Regions from separate parts of the Homo sapiens genome. Here region 1 is linked to region 2. Evidence: promoter capture Hi-C in human tissues and cell types (Jung and others, 2019). All regions are on one chromosome and are shown on one strand. The core of a region is centred on a gene start or on the middle of the fragment in contact, and the rest is flanking DNA. Distances in the headings are between cores, read along the strand shown.

Evidence for each region. The method cuts DNA at HindIII sites, captures the fragments that hold promoters and counts their contacts. A contact is called where the count stands out against the background at its distance.
Region 1: a fragment that was not itself captured here is called in contact with the fragment with the promoter of MMP9 in region 2 in 1 of the 25 tissues and cell types used here (spleen).

Annotation. Positions count from the first base shown.
Region 1 is chr20:46,182,474-46,188,366 of GRCh38, forward strand. CDH22 (cadherin 22) reads right to left here. Exons shown (of 12, transcript NM_021248.3): 9 at 4,353-4,474; 10 at 4,115-4,232. Among named protein-coding and RNA genes, the nearest start is that of CD40, 67 kb to the left of the region's middle. The HindIII fragment of the contact is 5,122 bases long and covers 1,849-5,893 here.
Region 2 is chr20:46,004,523-46,010,369 of GRCh38, forward strand. It overlaps MMP9 (matrix metallopeptidase 9), which reads left to right and starts at 4,386. Exons shown (of 13, transcript NM_004994.3): 1 at 4,386-4,542; 2 at 5,344-5,576. The coding sequence starts at 4,405. RefSeq lists enhancers at 1-141, 142-793. The HindIII fragment of the contact is 9,924 bases long and covers 1-5,847 here.

The sequences.
Region 1 (5,893 bases), core at 3,160-5,659, 180 kb after region 2:
GATTGCCAAGCAAGAAGAGGGATGTTTGTCTCTCAGGGTTGCTGTCTTGGGCCATGGGACCATATGTTCTGGGAACTCTGGTCCCCACCACTCCTCCACCCCATGAAGGGGAATCCCCAGGCATCAACCCTGAATGCATCAAGCTGCCCTCCTGGGCAGCAGCTGGCTTCAGTTGGGGAAGCCTCTGGCCACCCCGGTCCCCTACCCCACCCTTCTAGGTGGGATCTGTGCCCAGCGCTGCATCCATCCATCTGGCCTGACATACATCAGTGTCAATCCCTGGCTGCAAAGGCAATATTTATAAATCACGTTTCCAAACTGGCTACACATTTGTACAAAGAAACAGATGGGTTGGGGTAGCCGTTTGTCACCTAGGATATTTATACAGTGAGGAGGAGGGGGCTTGGCAAGTAGTGGGAAGGGGCTGAGGGACTGGAGGAGGAGGAGGCCTTCCACGGCTGCTGTGACCTCAGCGTGCTGCTGCCACCCTGTCCCCGGAGCTTACACCAGGTGGCACTCTGGATGGCAGCTCTGGTGCCCCCCCCTCTCCCCCAGCTAAACAAAAGCAACTGAGGCAGAATCTCGGGCCCCTTGGGTTGGAAAGCCTGGTGAACTTGGCAGAGTTGAGCCAAGGCTAGCTGTGTTTCCTGTGACCTGCTCAGGATACTACTGGACTAATGAATAGGCAGGGCTGTACTGGTTGTTAAAATATTGAAATACTTCCAAAAAAGGCTTAAATAGCTGTTGACACTAAGCCCCCCAAATCTCTCCCTGCTGCCTCAGCCTTTTCCCCAGGCAGCCTCCCAACTTTGACACAATCAAGCCACGAAGGAGTTAATGCCTGGTGTAGTAAAGTTTCCAGGGTCCTGCTCCAGGTTTTGGTCAGCGTCCTTTCTGATTGGCCATCTGAGCTGCACTGGTTGTTAAATCTGTTTATTATTTTTCATTATTTATTTTTAATTATTGATTGACTGAGACAAGGTCTCACTCTGTCTTCCAGGCTGGAGTGCAGTGGTGCGATCGTGGCTCAATGGAGCCTCAAACTCCTAGGCTCAAGTGATTCTCCTGCCTCAGCTTCCTGAGTAGCTGGGACTACAGGTGTGCGCCACCATGCCCAGCTAATTATTATTATTATTTTTAAAGAGATGGGTTTTCACTGTGTTGTCCAGGCTATTCTCAAACTCCTTGCCTCAAGGGATCCTCCTGCCTTGTGCTGGAGTTATAAACATGAGCCTTACATATTTTTAACAGGACTCCCAGGGGTACAGATGGGTCTGGCTTCAGAGGCCACTAAGGCTCCGCATTGGGTGTGAGTGTGTAAAGGCCTTGAGAAGGATCCCAGACCTGTTCCAAGGCCAGAAGGAACCCACATGATCTGGCCCCCTCGCTGACCACATCTCCTCCCAGTCCTGTCTCTTACTCACTCTAATCACACAGGTCTCCTCCATTCCTAATCCACCCCAGTCCTGCTCACCACAGGGCCTTTGCACTTGCTATTTCTTCCACTGGGGTGGTCGTTTTCTCTCATATCCTTTAGGTCCCTTCTCACTATGGATACCCTTGGAGAGTCCTTCCCAGGCCACCCTATTTAAGAAGATAGCTTCTCCTCTTACCCTGCTTTCTCTCTCTCTTTTTTTTTTTTTAGATGGAGTTTCGCTCTTGTTGCCCGGGCTGGAGGGCAATGGTGAGATCTCACCTCACTGCAACCTCCGCCTCCTGGGTTCAAGCAATTCTCCTGCCTCAGCCTCTGGAGTAGCTGGGATTACAGGCATGCGCCACCCTGCTGGACTAATTTTTGTATTTTTAGTAGAGACTGAGTTTCACCATGTTGGCCAGGCTGGTCTCGAACTTCTGACCTCAACTAATCCGCCCACTTCAGCCTCCCAAAGTGTTGAGATTACAGGGCTGAGCCACTGTGCCCTGCTTTATTTTTCACTGTTTCATTGAACACATTTTATCAAACACCTACGATATGCCAAGCACTGCTCCAGGCACCTAGGGTTGAACAAAGTCAAGTCCAGACCCTTGTGGAGATTGCATTATTCCTCCACCCCAGCCACTTATCATCCCCAACATACTTTTTTATTTGTGTCATTTCTGTCTCACCTCACTAGAATATAAACTAGGTTTTGTTGTGTTTGCTGTTGCATTTCCAGGACCCGGAGCAGACCCCGACACAGAGGCTTTGTGTCTCAATAAACACTCACTAAATAATTGCTGGATGTAGGAATTGACATTTCTAGGTATTAACACTATATCTTGGTGGCCCTTATCTTACTGGGGCTACCTAGCCACCCGAGGCAGTAGGTGTTACTCCCATTTTAGATGATGAAACTGAGGCTTAGAGAGGAACAGGCGCCCCAGCACTTTGGTAGGCCGAGGCGGGCAGATCACCTGAGGTCAGGAGTTCGAGACCAGCCTGGCCAACATGGCGAAACCTCGTCTCTACTAAAAATACAAAAATTAGCCTGGCGTGGTGGTGCGTGCCTGTAACCCCAGCTACTCTGAAGGCTGAGGCAAGAGAATCTCTTGACCCTGGGAGGCAGAGGTTGCAGTGAGCTGAGATCGCACCACTGCACTCCAGCCTGGGCAACAGAATGAGATGCTGTCTCAAACAAACAAACAAACAAAAAACAACAAAAAAACCCCACACGCATACACACACACACACACACACACACACACACACAAACAACAACAAACACAAAAAAACCAGAGAGGAACAGGAGCTTGCCAGGGTGGTATAGAGCACCCTTCGCTGAGCCTGGTCCCTTATTTCCAGTCTGGTGACTGCCCCCTTCCCTCAGTCTATTCCTTAAAGGTTCAAACATCAACATCATGAGAAACTTGTGAGAGCCAGAGGGGAGGAATCTCACAGTGGACTCAGGCAGGGCAGGGCAGTTTGCTTTCCAGGTGGTGTGCTGAGGCAGGAAGCACACTGGACTTGGGATGGGGTTGGGTTGAATCCTACCCACACCACTGACTCCCTATATGACCCTGGGCAGGACTCTTTCTCTCTTAGAGTCTCAGTTTCATCACCTGTAAAATGGGGAGAGGAGTCAGAAAACTACCTCACAGGATGGCTGTGAGGTTGCAGAAAGAAATGTGAGTGGGCCTGGCGTGGTGTCTCATGCCTATAATCTCAGCTCTTTGGGAGGCCGAGGTAGGAGGATTGTTTGAGCCCAGGAGCTCGATACCAGCCTGGGCAACACAGCAAGACCCCATTTCTACAAAAAATAAAACAATTAGCCAGATCTGATGGTGTGCATCTGTAGTGCCAGCTACTCAGGAGGCTGACGCAGGACTGCTTGAGCCTAGGAGATCAAGGCTGTAGTGAGCTATGATTGCACCACTGCACTGCTGCCTGGGTGACAGAGCAAGACCTTGTTTCAAGAACAATTCCAAAAACCAAAAAAGGAATGTGAGTGGAATAAAGCAGTTTTTAAACTGCAGGGTGGGCTGGGCACAGTGGCTCATGCCTATAATCCCAGCACTTTGGGAGGCCGAGGCAGGCCGATAGCTTGAGCCTGGGAGTTCAAGACTAGTCTGGGCAATACGGCAAAAATCCCGTCTCTACAAAAAATACGAAAAGTAGCTGGGCATGGTGGCACACATCTATGCTCCGAGCTACTTGGGAGGCTGAGGTAGGAGGATTGCTTGTGTCTGGGAGGTGGAGGTTGCAACGAGCCACTGCACTCCAGCCTGGCTGACAGAGCGAGACCCTGTCTCAAAAAAAAAAAAAAAAAAATCAAATAAAAAGCCAGAAACCTGCAGGGTGGGGAGTGTGTGCACGTGGCTTACTTCAGTCTCCACTCAGAACGGGGGCTCTTTCCACCCTGGACTCTGGCACAATCATTCCTCATTTATTCCCTGTCTATATCTTCCCATCTGCCATTTCTTATCCTTGGGACGCCCTCCTCCACTCCACCAACCCACACCCTGCTTGTGTTTGGCCAGTGGGCTGGGTAACAGCTCCAGCTTGGCCCAGACTTTCCATGTGATCTTAGATCCAACATAGGCCCTGTGGGCGCCTCCGTCCCTCTGTCTATAATATGGGAACAGGGCAGGGAGACTGTGCCCCTCCCTTCTTGCATCCTAGGGTTTGGAGGCTCACCTTGGATGTCAAGCAGAGAGAAATGAGGGTTGCTGGGAGCTTCAGGCACCAGGCGGAAATAGAAGCGGTGCCCGCCTTGGGGCTCGTCTCTGTCCACCACGCTGATGGTCTGGATGAGCTGAAGGGTGAGGAGGGGATAGAGGGCTAGTGGTGAGGCTGAGACCACTCTGGGTCGAGGTAGAGGATGCTGCTGGCCAGTCCTGGAAGCAACGCCCAGTCCCCACCCCCTCAGGGGTACCTGGCCTGGCTTGGCATCCTCGCATACAGCTGCCTCGTAGGGTGTGGCCAGTTCTGGGGGATTGTCGTTCACATCCAGGATTCGGATCCTTAGGGATGCCCGGGATAGCTGTGCATGATTGTCTGTAATGAGAGCACAGGAGCAAGGGGAGAGGCATCAAGTGGGAGATCTAGATAGCCTCCTCTCTACTATGAGGACAATAGTAGGCAGTGGGGTCATGCTGAGAAATTTGTGGGTTAACCAAGCTGGTACAAGGACCAGAACTGGGAACATTTGGGCATAAGTTAAGTAATCATCACTGTAATCACCACCACCATTACCATCAACCTTGGCACCATTGGCATTATCACTACAACGCTTGCCACCACAATCACCAGTAGCACCCACTGCCATCACCAACACCATCACCACTGTCAGCATCAACACCACCATCACCATCCCATCTCCACCATGGCCACCTTTGCCATCACTACCACTATTACTATTACCACTGTCATCATTAAGCCATTACCAATACCACTATTTGCATTATCATCAGTGCGTCTATCAACATAACTATGAGTACCACCATCACCATCCTTATACTGTTACCATCACCACTGCCATCACCACCATCACCATCAGGTCATCACCATCACTACCATCACCATTAGAATTAGCACCACCACCACCAGAACCACATCCTCTAGTACTACACCCATCATCTCTACCATAAATAATACTAAAGCCATCACCATCACTACCCTCACCACCACCACCAACCCCATCACCATCACCAATATCACCATCACCAATACCACCACCATCTCTTCCATAGTCACCACAACCACAATCACCAGCCCACCTATTACTACTATTACCCCCATCATAATCACCAATATTACCATCACATCCCTGGCCCCCAACAACACTGTCATCACCACTGCCATCCCCACCCCCTCACCACAGAGCACACAGCATGCACGTGGAGCATCTACATTCATTATTTTAAGTATCCTTGCAGAAATCCTGTGGTTTGGTACAATTTCTATCCCCATATTGCAAAGGAGAAACTAAAACGTGGGATGCTTTCTAGACATGGGTCGGGGCAACTAAACTCCAAGACTTCTGCTTTCTCAAGACCTGATCCTAAAAGGGCCAGACAAGTCCAAGGAGGTAGATCTTCGCCAGCAAAACCATGATGTCCCCACCTCTCCAAGTTGGGACGTCTTTAAGATCATGGTCCCTGTCTTATTTATCTCTGGGCTACCAGCATTGTGGGATATGGTACATGTAAATTCTAATATATTAATATTTGCTGAATGAATGAATGAAGCCTGGAAAAATTGAGACTGCAGGAGGCTTGAATTCCAGGCGTGGCTGTGTCCCTGACCCAGTGTTTGGTCTTGGGTAAGACCCTGCCTTCTCTGATGTCAGTTTCCACACCTGGAAAATGAACAGAGCATAGTGATTATGAGCAGTGCTGGGTAGTTCTGATTCCAGCTCTGCTGTTTTATGTCTGTATAATCCAAGCCAGGTCATTTGACCTCCCTGTGCCTCAA
Region 2 (5,847 bases), core at 3,136-5,635:
GCTAAACTGTGTGTGTGTGTGTGTGTGTACCTGCTAAGAGCCAGGCACTGTGCTGAGAATTTGCCATGTATAATCACATTTAATCCCCACTACAACACCTCCAAATGAGGTCTGCTTCTTTCCCCACTTTACAAATGAGAAAAGGGAGGCACAGAGAGGTAAAGTGATTTGCCTAAAGTCCCACAGCCCATAAATGATAGGTAGTAGAATATGAACCCAGGAGGTCTGATTCCAAAATTTATGCCCTATGGCTTCCTTACTGACGGTGCTCAGTACAGATAAGTGGGAGGTGTGACTTGGTGTTAATAGGGACTCTAAGAGTCAGTGTGGGAATTGCCATTCCCCTGAAGCTAGGGATGGCAGGTGTGTTTGTGGGTTGGGGGTGGGGTACTTGAGTGATGCTCTCCCCTGAGGCAATGTCTTGCAGGATACACACCTTTCTACTTCATCTCAGATTTCAGTGTCTCCTCCACATCCTGCCAGAGCCTCTCTGGCCTGGCTGCCCCTCCCCTCTCTGGCAGGTTTGGGAGAAAGAGGCTTGGAGTTCCCCCATCCTAGATAGCGGGACAGATTCCTCATCTCGTGAGGCTGACCCTGATCTGGGGGCCTGTTATTAATAATGGCCTGCAGGGCTGTGTCATCCAGCTAGTGATTCAGGACTCCAGGGTCAGCACCCTCCCCATCCTGATGGAGCTACCTCAGTGAGGGGCTTAGAGTCTAAGCTATGACTCTACGTGAGGGTATATGCTGTTCTCTGCCTGCACTCCCAGGGTCTTGGCTAAACTCTATTGTGGTATTAAAAAGAGAGGCTGGGGGAAGTGGGGAAGGGGATGTGGTAACCAGAACCACTTCCTGCCACTGCAGTGTTGAAAGCCAAGCTCTGTCCAAGTTCCCCTTGATGGGGGTTGGGGAGCCAGGAGGTAAAGGAGGAAGTTGATGGGAGTTGGGGGGGATGTTAAAAAAAGGAGGATTCTTATTTGGATTGACTCCAGGAATCAAGATCTGGGTTTCCTGGCTGCTCTCTCCCTGCTCCCATTTGGTAAAAAACAGCGGCTGTCCTGAAGGTGGTCCTAATTAGCATAGCAGTGAACACTTATTATCATGTGCCAGGCACTTTATATTTGCTAACACTTTGAGCCTTACAACCACCCCATGAAGGAAGCACTATTATTACTCCAATTTTACAGATGGGGAAACTGAGGCACTGAAATGTTGTGTCAGTTGCCCTTGTCACACAGCAAGTCAGTGGCAGAGCTGAGATTTGAACTTAGGCAGCCTGGCTCCAGAGTGCAGGCTCTTGCTCTGTGACCACTCTGAGCCTCAGTTTCCTCATTGCATGATGAGGGTAATTGGAATACATAAATCCACTTTCCTTTCTTGATGCCTGATTCTCTGGTAATTAATTATTCATTCAATTTCTCCCCATGCTGAACTCTCAGATCCATGAACAATGAGACAAAGGCTATCTTGGTCACTACTTGTATTCCCAATTCTTAGCATAATGATTGGCCTAGAAAAACTCAACTAGAATGTGTTGAGTAAATGGTCTTTAAAAGGTCTGAAGATCATCAACAATGGTTTGAGTATCTGATAAAAGTTTTAGACCCTTTACATAGAAAAATCAACATATACCAGTAGCTGGGGGTGAGTCTGCCCCTCCCACTCACCCAGGGTACATTTGGCAATGTTTGGTAACATTTCTGGTTGTCACAACTGGCAGGGGGAGGTGCTACTGGCATCCAGTGGGTAGGGGTCAGGGACGCTGCTAAACATCCTACAATGCACACGACAGCCCCAAGTGCCAATAGTGCTAAGTTTGAGCTATGTGACATACATACATAGATATGTATTGTATGTCATGTTTGGTACCATTGATGGCAAGTGGGGGGTAGTTAACGGATTTTCCTAAAAGCCCGTGTCTGCCACCCAGATGAAGATCCTCCAGATTGGAAGATCTGTTCCTCTAAACTCATATTACTCTATGACCTCACATTCCCGAGTCTAGAATCTAGTTCCTCCTGGGTCCCCTGTCCTAGCCTCTGATTCCCTAAATGCCTGGGCCTCCTCTCTTACCTTCAGTGGGTAGCAGGGGACCAGAGGAGAAGCATCCAGGTTTTATGTGCTGCCCCTGTCACCGCATCCACCTACCCACTTCTATACCTGGGTCATCACAGTTCCCTGTAAATGGTAATAAAGATGAAAAGCTTCAGAGCCAGGCAGTTCTGGGCTTGAACACTAGTTCTGTGGATTAACTCGCTCTGTGATCACAGGCAAATTCCTTAACTCTCTGAGCCTTAGTTTCCCCCTCTGAAAACAGGAGGGATACTCATTAAACTTACCTTACAGGTGGTGAGGATGAAACGAGAGGCTTATAGAGAACTTATTACGGTGCTTGACACAGTAAATCTCAAAAAATGCATTATTATTATTATGGTTCAGAGGTAAAGTGACTTGCCCAAGGTCACATAGCTGGAAAATGGCAGAGCCGGGATGGAAATCCAGGACTTCGTGACTGCAAAGCAGATGTTCATTGGTTAGTGAACTTTAGAACTTCAACTTTTCTGTAAAGGAAGTTAATTATCTCCATCTCACAGTCTCATTTATTAGATAAGCATATAAAATGCCTGGCACATAGTAGGCCCTTTAAATACAGCTTATTGGGCCGGGCGCCATGGCTCATGCCCGTAATCCTAGCACTTTGGGAGGCCAGGTGGGCAGATCACTTGAGTCAGAAGTTCGAAACCAGCCTGGTCAACGTAGTGAAACCCCATCTCTACTAAAAATACAAAAAATTTAGCCAGGCGTGGTGGCGCACGCCTATAATACCAGCTACTCGGGAGGCTGAGGCAGGAGAATTGCTTGAACCCGGGAGGCAGATGTTGCAGTGAGCCGAGATCACGCCACTGCACTCCAGCCTGGGTGACAGAGTGATACTACACCCCCCAAAAATAAAATAAAATAAATAAATACAACTTTTTGAGTTGTTAGCAGGTTTTTCCCAAATAGGGCTTTGAAGAAGGTGAATATAGACCCTGCCCGATGCCGGCTGGCTAGGAAGAAAGGAGTGAGGGAGGCTGCTGGTGTGGGAGGCTTGGGAGGGAGGCTTGGCATAAGTGTGATAATTGGGGCTGGAGATTTGGCTGCATGGAGCAGGGCTGGAGAACTGAAAGGGCTCCTATAGATTATTTTCCCCCATATCCTGCCCCAATTTGCAGTTGAAGAATCCTAAGCTGACAAAGGGGAAGGCATTTACTCCAGGTTACACTGCAGCTTAGAGCCCAATAACCTGGTTTGGTGATTCCAAGTTAGAATCATGGTCTTTTGGCAGGGTCTCGCTCTGTTGCCCAGGCTGGAGTGCAGTGACATAATCATGGCTCACTGTATCCTTGACCTTCTTTCTGGGCTCAAGCAATCCTCCCACCTCGGCCTCCCAAAGTGCTAAGATTACAGGAATGAGCCACCATACCTGGCCCTGAATCTTGGGTCTTGGCCTTAGTAATTAAAACCAATCACCACCATCCGTTGCGGACTTACAACCTACAGTGTTCTAAACATTTTATATGTTTGATCTCATTTAATCCTCACATCAATTTAGGGACAAAGAGCCCCCCACCCCCCGTTTTTTTTTTTACAGCTGAGGAAACACTTCAAAGTGGTAAGACATTTGCCCGAGGTCCTGAAGGAAGAGAGTAAAGCCATGTCTGCTGTTTTCTAGAGGCTGCTACTGTCCCCTTTACTGCCCTGAAGATTCAGCCTGCGGAAGACAGGGGGTTGCCCCAGTGGAATTCCCCAGCCTTGCCTAGCAGAGCCCATTCCTTCCGCCCCCAGATGAAGCAGGGAGAGGAAGCTGAGTCAAAGAAGGCTGTCAGGGAGGGAAAAAGAGGACAGAGCCTGGAGTGTGGGGAGGGGTTTGGGGAGGATATCTGACCTGGGAGGGGGTGTTGCAAAAGGCCAAGGATGGGCCAGGGGGATCATTAGTTTCAGAAAGAAGTCTCAGGGAGTCTTCCATCACTTTCCCTTGGCTGACCACTGGAGGCTTTCAGACCAAGGGATGGGGGATCCCTCCAGCTTCATCCCCCTCCCTCCCTTTCATACAGTTCCCACAAGCTCTGCAGTTTGCAAAACCCTACCCCTCCCCTGAGGGCCTGCGGTTTCCTGCGGGTCTGGGGTCTTGCCTGACTTGGCAGTGGAGACTGCGGGCAGTGGAGAGAGGAGGAGGTGGTGTAAGCCCTTTCTCATGCTGGTGCTGCCACACACACACACACACACACACACACACACACACACACACACACACCCTGACCCCTGAGTCAGCACTTGCCTGTCAAGGAGGGGTGGGGTCACAGGAGCGCCTCCTTAAAGCCCCCACAACAGCAGCTGCAGTCAGACACCTCTGCCCTCACCATGAGCCTCTGGCAGCCCCTGGTCCTGGTGCTCCTGGTGCTGGGCTGCTGCTTTGCTGCCCCCAGACAGCGCCAGTCCACCCTTGTGCTCTTCCCTGGAGACCTGAGAACCAATCTCACCGACAGGCAGCTGGCAGAGGTGGGCAAACACCTAGTCTAGAGTTGGGGAGGGCTGTCCGTGAGGGTGTTGAGTGTCCCAGAGAGGATGCAGGGCCTCAGAGGAGATGCTTTAGGGGTGTGTTGGTGGTGATGGGCGTATCTGAAGAACAGAGGTGTCCAGGGTTAGGCAGTGGGGGGTCTTGTGGAGGCTTTGAGCAGTGATGGCCAGAAATGGGCAATGGGGCTTTCCTAGGTGGGAAATGGGAAATGGTTTGGGGTGGGGGAGGCATTGGAGGGTTCTGGGGTAAGCATAGGCTGGGAGTGAACAGGGGCAAACCTTATGCAGCTGTGGGGTAGAAATGGGCTAGAGGCATCCAGGGGTGAGAAGGAGCTGAGGATGTCTAAGGAGGGGAGATCCCTGGGTGGTCAGAAAGCACTGGTGTCTGGAAAGCATTTAATGCTTTATTAAATGTTAGTCCCTGCTGGGCATGACGGCTCACACTTGTAATCCCAGCACTTTGGGAGGCTGAGGTGGTAGGATCGCTGAAGCTCAGGAGTTTGAGCCCAGCCTAGGCAACATAGTAAGATCCTGTCTCTACAAAAAAATTAAAGAAATAGCCAGGCACAGTGATGTGCACCTGTAGTTCCAGCTATGCAGAAGGCTGAGATGGGAGGATCGCTTGAGTCCAGGAGGTCCAGGCTGCAGTGGGCTGATACCGTCTCTCCGAAAAAGAAAAAGAAAAAAGACTCCCTCCATGAGTGTCTGGAGGGAGTCCTTTGGCCCCAGCTGGGCAGAGAAAGGGGTCAGAGATCTGGCATGTGTGTGTCCCTTCATCCACAGGAATACCTGTACCGCTATGGTTACACTCGGGTGGCAGAGATGCGTGGAGAGTCGAAATCTCTGGGGCCTGCGCTGCTGCTTCTCCAGAAGCAACTGTCCCTGCCCGAGACCGGTGAGCTGGATAGCGCCACGCTGAAGGCCATGCGAACCCCACGGTGCGGGGTCCCAGACCTGGGCAGATTCCAAACCTTTGAGGGCGACCTCAAGTGGCACCACCACAACATCACCTATTGGTGAGCCGGGGCCGTGGGGGCAGCGGGGTGGGGCGGGGAGGCCAGGTCTGGCTCTTGGGCCAGCGGTGAACATGTCCTGTCTTGGACGCGTCCCTGGGTTTCACTATTTAATGTGTGGCCCCTGGGGAGTGTCCCCACCTCTGAGCCTCTGTTTCTCCTTCAGGGAAATGGCTCTTGCAATCCAAGTCCTCCTGCCAGGGCCATTGTGAGGGTCTAAGTAGACAAAAAAAAAAAAAAAAAAAACAGTCTGGAAGCAATTTATAGATGAGAG